3 separate regions of the Homo sapiens genome follow, and all the other regions are linked to region 1. The links are contacts of gene promoters, found by promoter capture Hi-C in human tissues and cell types (Jung and others, 2019). All regions are on one chromosome and are shown on one strand. Each heading gives the region's core, a stretch centred on a gene start or on the middle of the fragment in contact. The rest is flanking DNA. Distances are from core to core; before and after follow the strand shown. Region 1 holds the start of CSDC2 (cold shock domain containing C2). Region 2 overlaps DESI1 (desumoylating isopeptidase 1). Region 3 overlaps ACO2 (aconitase 2).

Evidence for each region. Contacts are between HindIII fragments. The study calls those that stand out against the background at their distance.
Region 2: a fragment that was not itself captured here is called in contact with the fragment with the promoter of CSDC2 in region 1 in 3 of the 25 tissues and cell types used here (IMR-90 fibroblasts, bladder and lymphoblastoid cells).
Region 3: a contact is called between a fragment that was not itself captured here and the fragment with the promoter of CSDC2 in region 1, in 3 of the 25 tissues and cell types used here (lymphoblastoid cells, pancreas and psoas muscle).

The regions. Positions count from the first base shown.
Region 1 is chr22:41,559,148-41,562,414 of GRCh38, forward strand. CSDC2 (cold shock domain containing C2) reads left to right here and starts at 1,863. Exons shown (of 4, transcript NM_014460.4): 1 at 1,863-2,036. It overlaps LOC105373044 (a long non-coding RNA gene), which reads right to left and starts at 1,736. Exons shown (of 2, transcript NR_134631.1): 1 at 1,573-1,736. The HindIII fragment of the contact is 6,219 bases long and covers 1-3,030 here.
Region 2 is chr22:41,614,310-41,617,136 of GRCh38, forward strand. The region is part of intron 1 of DESI1 (desumoylating isopeptidase 1); the gene reads right to left. Among named protein-coding and RNA genes, the nearest start is that of DESI1, 5.3 kb to the right of the region's middle. The HindIII fragment of the contact is 3,973 bases long and covers 1-2,827 here.
Region 3 is chr22:41,503,509-41,506,385 of GRCh38, forward strand. The region is part of intron 2 of ACO2 (aconitase 2); the gene reads left to right. Among named protein-coding and RNA genes, the nearest start is that of ACO2, 36 kb to the left of the region's middle. The HindIII fragment of the contact is 3,499 bases long and covers 1-2,877 here.

The DNA.
Region 1 (3,267 bases), core at 613-3,112:
GTCCCAGCTACTCATGAGGCTGAGGCGGGAGGATCATTTGAGCCCAGGAGTTGGAAGCTGCAGTGAACTGTGATTGAGCCACTGCATTCTAGCCTGGGTAACAAAGCAAGACCCTGTTTCAAAAAAGAAAAAATAAATAAATAAAAAGGAGGAAAGAGAGAGGAGAATTTAAAGGGGAAGGGAGGCTCCTCTGGGTAGAGTTCTCAGGTGGGGCTGTGAAATAAAATCAGAACCCTGGCTGGGCGCGGTGGCTCACGTCTGTAATCCCAGCACTTTGGGAGGCTGAGGTGGGTGGATCACGAGGTCGGGAGATCGAGACCATTCTGGCCAACATAGTGAAACCCTGTCTCTACTAAAAATACAAAAAAATTAGCTGGGTGTGGTGGTGTGTGTCTGTAGTCCCAGCTACTCAGGAGGCTGAGGCAGGAGAATCGCTTGAACCCGGGAAGCGGAGGTTGCAGCGAGCTGAGATCAAGCCACTGCCCTCCAGCCTGGGCGACACAGCAATACTCTCTAAAAAAAATAATAATAATTCAGAACATCCCCAGGTAACCACAGGCAGCATTTCTCAACAGTCTCTCCTGCAGAACCAGAAACCCAGACTGTCTGAGCCTGATTGTCCTGAGAGGTTCTGGAAGGGCAGGGGCGTGTGGTGACACTGGGTGCTCCTGGGTTCCAGTACCTCTCTAGCCAGTTGGAAGAATATAGGCAAGTCAAGTCCTTCCTCCTCCCTGAGCCTCTAATTCCTCACCGGTAAAGTAGGGATGATAAAAATAAATTATTAAATTGTTGTGAGGTTTCAATGAGGGCAAAGCTTGCTGCCTGAAACAGAGCAAGCTCTTGTGGCGTCTTAGCTATTTGTATTAGTTACTTGTATTTTTCTCTGCGGTTTCCCTTTTAACTCCCACCTCCTTTTTATTTTAAAAAGACTCCTTTTGAAAATGCCAGCCTGCCTCAGTAGTACCAGGAGACACCAGGGAAAGGCTTCCTTCTTTCCAAGCTGAGGCTGAGAAGGAATGGGAAGAACGAAGAGAAGCACCTTTGTGGAGGCCTCCTCCAGCTGGCCCTGGGTTTAGGAACATCACACACTCAACCTCCAAAGGCCCTCAGGGGCTGGCCCAAGGTCACACAGCTTGACAGTGCGGAGCACTTCGAAGCCAGGGCGTGTGGTGTAGAACAGGCTGGGTGCCTGAATTCAATCAGCCCTCTCTACTTCTCTACTCAGAGCCTCCCAGGCTGTGGGGTGTTCACCTGTGCACCTTCAAGCCGATCACTTCCTTGGGGTCCTCGTCAATTCAATTCCATGGAAATATTACAAGGGGTAGACAGAGATGAGCCGTGTCAGTGTCTGTACTAGCAGAGGGCAGGACCACTGAGCGTCCGGAGGGGAGACGAGTGTCTGGGTGTCCCTGGGAACCTGGCTTGTCTCGACCCCTCTGGGGGGCTCCTCTTGGCTCTGACCTCCATTCTCCCAGACTCACCCCCACTCATGCCCACCCACCCCGAGGGGCCCCCCAGTGTGCACTCACACACTCACACTCAAACTCACCACCCCACTTGCTCTCTAATTACCAGGAACGTGGCGCTGTCTCAGGTTCTTCCTCCCCTGCATTCCTCAGCAGCTGCCCTCACTGGGCAGGGCAAATTATACCGTGGCCCGACCATAAAAGCCACTTTCCAAAAAAAGAAGCTTTAAGGCCCCCGAGAGACGCAGCTGAGCCTCTCACCTGGCAGTGCCTGACTCAGGAGGTGATGTCTGGGCCATGAGCCACAGAGCCTGGTGTCCCTTTAAGCAGGGAGTACAAATTCTCATCCCTCCCTCCTGCTCTCCCTGACGTCAGCTGGAAGGCGTGTGAGTGAGTGAGGGGCTGAGGTACCGCCCGCGCGAGCACACACAGACACACACACACACACACACACACACACACACACACATCTTCCAGACCCATCCCCTGCCTGCCAGCTCCACGAGCCAGAGAGAGACAGAGCGCGGACGCCGCAGGAGGCAGTGCCTGGACCCCAGCTGCCCAGGAGAGGTGAGGGGCTAGATGGGGCCTGAGGACACTGTGCCAGAAACTGTGGCTTTGGCCAGGCCGAAGGAGAGAGGTACAACGTGAAGGTGGGGGCTGGATCAGCCCAGTTCAGCTTACAGATAGGGTGTTGGGGGTATAGAGGATACCACCTGTCTCTCCCTCCCTCATTCTCTCCCCGTGACCCCCAAATGAGGTGAGGCCGTGTGGCTCCCGTGGGAGCATGTCTGTGTCTGTGTCTGTGTCTGTGTCTGGGACCTGCGTCTGGCTCAGGAGGCAGAGAGCAGCAGATACCTGCCAAGCCGCAGCCTCCTGTCTGGGAAGCAGCGGGAGAGAGGACCGCCTTGACCAGAGAAACCCCAGTGCCGCTTCCAGTTGCTGAAAGCAGAGTGCAGCAGGGACCCTTGCTGGTCCTTCCCCTGGAATGTTGGGCTGGGAAGGGACCGGCTGGGAAAGGCAGACAGTTGGACCTGGAGCAGCTGTCTTATCCTGACTCTATTTTTTCCCCAGTGTGATGGGGATAATTGTGTTAGTTGGCTTAGAGAGGTGGCTCCGTGTGGTTATTCTCTTCCCCCAGGTACCACCCCACCCCGAGCCCTTGCTTCTTGCCTGCCTGCTGGTCTGCTCTGACCTCCACCCTTGCCAGGGCACAGCCCCCGGAGGGCAGGGGTGATAAGTCAGGGCCTGCCAGGCCTCTATCTTGGGATACAGGGACTTAGGGTGGCCTTGGCTGGTGCCAAGCCCATGAATGGCCTGACCCTGGCACAAGGAGTCCAGGCGGAGATAAGGGGCGACGCTGGCACCCACAAGGAGACAGCAGGTTCCTGCCAAGCTGCCAGCCTGCAGGCTCTTCCCAGGGAGAGGGGAGGGGGACACAGAGCGAGAACAATAATAAATACAGAGTGTGAACTGCTGCATCCACTGGGGCTGGGGTAGGAGAGGAGGAAGTATGCCCAGTGGGGGGTGGGCAACCTCTCTGAGAGCCTGGCATCATGCTGCCTGGCTGTGATCCGGCAGGGGCCTCTCCCTGGGAAAGGGGGTCTCCAGCTTTCTGGGGGATGGGGAACTGGTTTCCCAAACCTGACTCCATCCCAGAGTCCTCTGGACCCTCCAAATTCTGAATGTTTCCTCCTCCCAGCTTTGCCCTGCCGCCCCCCATTTCCTTGAAGTCTTCTCCAAAAATGTCTGTTTTCTGTGTCTGCCCATCTTGACCCATCCTCACCCCCTTCAAAAAAAA
Region 2 (2,827 bases), core at 206-2,705, 55 kb after region 1:
ACAGGGGTTAACCACTGCACCCAGCCTGTTCATTCTTTCACTTATTCATTCATCCACCAAACACTTGGAGCCAACAATAACATTAAAAATGAATTGAGTGAATTTACATCCTTTCTTTTTTCCTTTTGAGACAGAGTCTCACTTTGTTTCCCAGGCTGGAGTGCAGTGGCGTGATCTCGGCTCACTGCAACCTCCGTCTCCGGGGTTCAAGTGATTCTTCTGCCTCAGCCTCCCAAGTAGCTGGGATTATAGGTGTGAGCTACTGTGCCCGGCCTACATCCTTTTTTTTTTTTGAGATGGAGTCTCACTCTATCACCCAGGCTGAAGTGCAGTGGCATGATCTCGGCTCACTGCAACCTCTGCCCTCCGAGTTCAAGCGATTCTCCTGCCTCAGCTTCCCGAGTAGCTGGGATTACAGGCATGCGCCACCGTGCCCAGTTAATTTTTGTATTTTTAGTAGAGATGGGGTTTCACTATCTTGGCCAGGCTGGTCTTAAACTCCTGACCTCAGGTGATCCACCCGCCTTGGCCTCCCAGAGTGCTGGGATTACAGGCATAAGCCACCTCACCCCACCTTGTTTTCTTCTTCTTTTTTTTTTTTTTAACAAAAAAGTTCCTTTTCACCTGTTTTCCACATGCATATCTGCAGAAGATTTCATTTCAAGGAAGAGTTTCACAGCTAAAGAGCATTTGAAAACCACTGGTCAGGCCACATGCAGTGGCTCACGCCTGTAATCCCAGCACTTTTGGAGGCTGAGGCGGGCGGATCACGAGGTCAGGAGATCAAGTCCATCCTGGCTAACATGGTGAAACCCCGTCTCTTCTAAAAAAAAATACAGGCCGGGCGCGGTGGCTCAAGCCTGTAATCCCAGCACTTCGGGAGGCCGAGGCGGGAGGATCACGAGGTCAGGAGATCGAGACCATCCCGGCTAACACGGTGAAACCCCGTCTCTACTAAAAATTAAAAAAAAAAAAAAAAAAAAAAAATTAGCCAGGCACGGTGGCGGGCGCCTGTAATCCCAGCTACTCAGCAGGCTGAGGCAGGAGAATGGCATGAACCTGGGAGGCACGCGCCACTGCACTCCAGCCTGGGCACACAACAAGACTCTGTCTCAAAAAAAAAAAGAAAATTTAAAAAAGCAGAATCACGCAGGGCCTTGTAAGCCATATTCCTTTCCATTTTGCCTTAAAGAAATTGAATGATTATTAAATTAATTCATTAGATGAGTATAAAACAGTTCACACAGTGAACAAAAATCAAAAACAAAGCACAATAGATGGCATTAAAACAGAAAAAACCTCTCTCAGATTTGAATAAATTTTACTTAATCTTCAAGCTTAAGTTCAAGTCTCAATCATTTCTATAATCAATACTTACTGAACACCTGCTCCAACAGGCCACTGGGGACATATAGGAAGGGGACAGAGTCCTTGCCCTCCAGGAGCTCCAGGCTCTTGCCAAAGCCTCTCTGACATGCTCAGCTCACCATGGCCTCTCTTATTTCAAAGCCTAACATAGTTCATGCACCACTCACTCACTTTGGCACCTAATCATAATCTGTTTTATATTGTTATCAAATGTTATATGTGTACATTCATTATTTAAAGGAAAATAATATTTTAAGAAAAACTCCTGGGCTGGGCATGGTGACTCATGCCTTACTTTGGGAGGGGGGTTTGTTCAGCATTTTGGGAAGCTAAGGTGGGTGGATCGCCTGAGATCAGGAGTTTGAGACCAGCCTGACCAACATGGTGGAACCCAGTCTCTATTAAAAATAGAAAAATTAGCTGGACATGGTGGCACATGTCTGTAATCCCAGCTCCTTGGGAGGCTGAGGCAGGAGAACTGCCTGAACCCAGGAGGCGGAGGTTGCAGTGAGCCGAGATCGTGTCATTACACTCCAGCCTGGGCAACAAGAGTGAAACTCTGCCTCAAAAAAAGAAAAATTCCTGGAGGACAGAGTTCACGTCATATCTTTTATTTCATTACTATTTGTACTACAAAATGAAGTAAAGAATTGAGTATAGTGTAAAATCTCTAATATTCATTAGAATTCATTCTGCCAAGCAATTTATATATTCTATGTCTCCAAATCTTTAAGTCTGAAAACAGTTTTGAAATGGGCTTGTAAAGAAAAATAAACGTGATGCATGTACACGAAACTTCTGATCAGAAAATAATAAACAAATATGAAGTACTTCTTACCACAATTAAAACACACACACACACACACACACACACACACACACACACACACTTCTGCATGTACTGTGGCACAAAAAGAGGTCAAGAAACTTAAAGAGCAGCCAAAATTATTAAGAGGAGGAACTGAAGGACACTTATAATAGCTAATTATTTTAGGCAATTGGTGACTATGAAAAAAGGTGCAATGAGGCTATCTGCTCAATTAGAATGCTGAAGATAATTTTGGGACCATTTTTCATAGTGAATGAAAAGCTATAGAACAGTAATGCCTTCACTTGAGGCAATTCCAGGAGGCTGAAAACAGGACAGGCTAAAACTACGGAATTTACATTGCTTCAGGAAAGGGGAATTACCTTGGGCTTTATCTAGTCTAATCCTGAACTGCGACAGAGCTAGATGAGGTCTCCCATTGGAGAACTGACATAACTGAAGCCTGAGAGGGTACTGCAGATGAGATCACATGGATTTAATTTGGGAAAATGGAGACTAAGAGGCATGATCATAAATCTAGATTGTAAGTGGCACATACACATTGAACCCAGCTTTTTTTCTCATCCAAACTTGAAACATTTGGCAAAGGATGCCTTTACAAACTTCAGGAAGGCATCTACTTTACTTCAA
Region 3 (2,877 bases), core at 308-2,807, 56 kb before region 1:
TTAGTAGAGAAGGGGTTTCACCATGTTAGCCGGGATGGTCTCAATCTCCTGACCTTGTGATCCACCCGCCTCAGTCTCCCAAAGTGCTGAGGTGACAGGTGTGAGCCACCACACCTGGTCTGTTCTCTGTTTTCATTGTTGCCACAGAGCAGGTCTCAACAAGGTGGGGGGTGGTCAGTTTTGTCCCTAGGGCCCATTTGGTGATGTCTAGAGATATTTTTGGTTGTCATAACTTGGCTGGGGTTGGGGCTTACTGTTACCCAATGGGTAACCAGGAATACTACCAAGCATCCTACAGCGCACAGGGCAGCCCCACAACAAAAGAATTCTGCGGCCCAAATAGGTTCATAGTGCCCTGGCTGAGAAACCCTGACACGGAGAAAGAGGGCAGAGGTGAGGTTATGCTAAAAAGAATTATATTCTAGCCGGGTATGGTAGCCCACGCCTGTAATCCCGGCACTTTGGGAGGCCGAGGCAGGCGGATCACTTAAGGCCAGGAGTTTGAGACCAGCCTGGCCAACATGGTGAAACACTGTGTCTACTAAAAATACAAAAAAATTAGTCAGGCATGGTGGCGAGCGCCTGTAATCCCGGCCACTCGGGAGGCTGAGGCAGGAGAGCCGCTTGAACCCAGGAGGTGGATGTTGCAGTGAGCTGAGACCACACCACAGCACTCCAGCCAGAGTGGTGTCTCTGGTGACAGAGGAAGAGACTCTGGCTCAAAAAATAAAAATAAAGCGTTCTATTCTAAGAATTTTTTAGAAGGCCAGGGGACTTGCTGGGCGACTTCTCTTCCACCTTGTGTCTCCAACAGAAGGGGTCTAAGTCTGTTCTTGAGAACTGGATCTGTGTCATCTGGAGAGCAGAGGGACAGATGGATATGAAGACCCATTTTGTCATCCTCAGTTAATCCTCAGGGACATTCAATGATGAACCCATCCTAAAGCTTCAGCATTGCTGAGCTTTTTTATATAGCTTCAATCATTTGCTTCCAAGGTCTTGGGTTTTTAAGCCCATGTGCTATTTTTTGTCTCCCTCGGGGCCCAGAAGGAGGGGCTGTGAGTCATTGCCCGTACACCAGCCTTGGCGGTGCTGCCGCAATCGGCGCAGGCTGTACCTCAGGCTAGTGCTGTTTTTATTCATAGAGATGCTCAGAGTTGCCAGTTGGTCTGCTGTTGCCAGCAGATCCAGCACCTTAGGGACTTTTTTTTTTTTTTTTTTTTTTTTTTTTTTGAGGTAGGGTCTTGCTCTGTTACCCAGGCTGGAGTGCAGTGGTTCGATCATGGCTTACTGCAGCCTTGACCTTCTGGGGTCAATCCATCCTCCCACCTCAGCCTTCCCAGTATCTGGGACTATAGGCACATGCCACCATGCCTGGCTTCTTTTTATGTTTTTTGTACAGGTGGAGTTGCCCAGGCTAGTCTCAAAACGCCTGGACTCAAGTGATCTGTCTGCCTCGGCCTCCTAAAGTGCTAGGATGACAATCGTGAGCCACCACACCCAGCTGGGAACTCTTACTTTGAAGAGGTTGGGTAAACTTGGGGGTGAGGGACTGGAACCCAGCTTGCAGAAGGAAGTTTCTCTGCCATCTCACTATGCATATTGATGATAACAGTAATGATAACTGAGAAAGGATGAGGTGGCTCACACCTGTAATCCCAGCTCTTCGGGAAGATCATGTGAGCCTAGGAGTTCAAGACCAGCCTGGTCAATACAGTGAAAACCCATTTCTACAAAAATAAAATAAATAAATAAATAAAATTAGCCAATGTGGTGGTGCGTGCCTATAATCCCAGTTACTCAGAGGCTGAGGTGGGAGGATCGCTTGAGCCTGAAAGGTTGAGGCTGCAGTGAGCTACAATTGTGCCACTACACTCCAGCCTGGGTGACAGAGCAAGACCCTGTCTCAAAATAATAACAATAATAATAATAATAATAATAATAATGAAAATGGAACATTCACCATGTGCTGGCCCTATTCCAGATTCCAGGTGTGGAGAGACCGGGTAGATTAGCGTCAGGAGCACAGCCGTAGGGCCACACTGCTGCCTCTTCGTGGTCCAGCTGTACCCCTCACTGGCTTCGTGGTCTGGAGCAAAGCTACTCTGTCCCTCTGTGCTGCAGCTTCCTCATCTGTGCTGTGAGGATAAAATGAGTTTTATACATGAAAATACTTAAGATAATGCTGAGCTGAAAGTAAATGCTACGATAACGCTGGTCTCTAGTGACAGAAAGCCAATCAGTAGTGGCAAAGGGGCGGGAGGGAGTTAACCAAGGGGTGGGGAAACTTGAAGGAGAGATGGTCAGTATCTTGATTGTGGTGCTGGTTTCACAGGTGTATACAGTGTCAAAACTTAGCAAATTGTGTACCTTAAATATGCAGTTTATTGTATGCCAATTATACCTCTGTTTAAAGCTGTTTAAAAATGAAAGGCTATAGAAGTGGAAGCTGTTATCTCATCCCAGTGCAAGCCCTGGTATTTAGAGATGGGCTGGCTGAGCTGAGGAGAGCAGTTGCTTATCTTGTTAAATAGTGGTTTCAGTAATAGGTCAGGTTTGGGCTTTTTTGTTTTTTTTTTGTTTGTTTGTTTTTATTAGAGACAGCATGTCACTCTGTTGCTCAAGCTGGAGTGCAGTGATGTGATCAGGGCTCACTGCAGCCTTGATCTCCTGGGCTTAAGTGATCCTCCCGCCTCAGCCTCCTGCGTAGTTGGGACTACAGGCACGCATCACCCTGTCTGGCTCATTCTTTTTTTTTTTTTGAGATAGAGTCTTGCTCTATTGCCCAGGCTGGAGTGCAGTGGCGCTATCTCAGCTCACTGCAAGCTCCGCCTCCCGGGTTCACGCCATTCTCCTGCCTCAGCCTCCCGAGTAGCT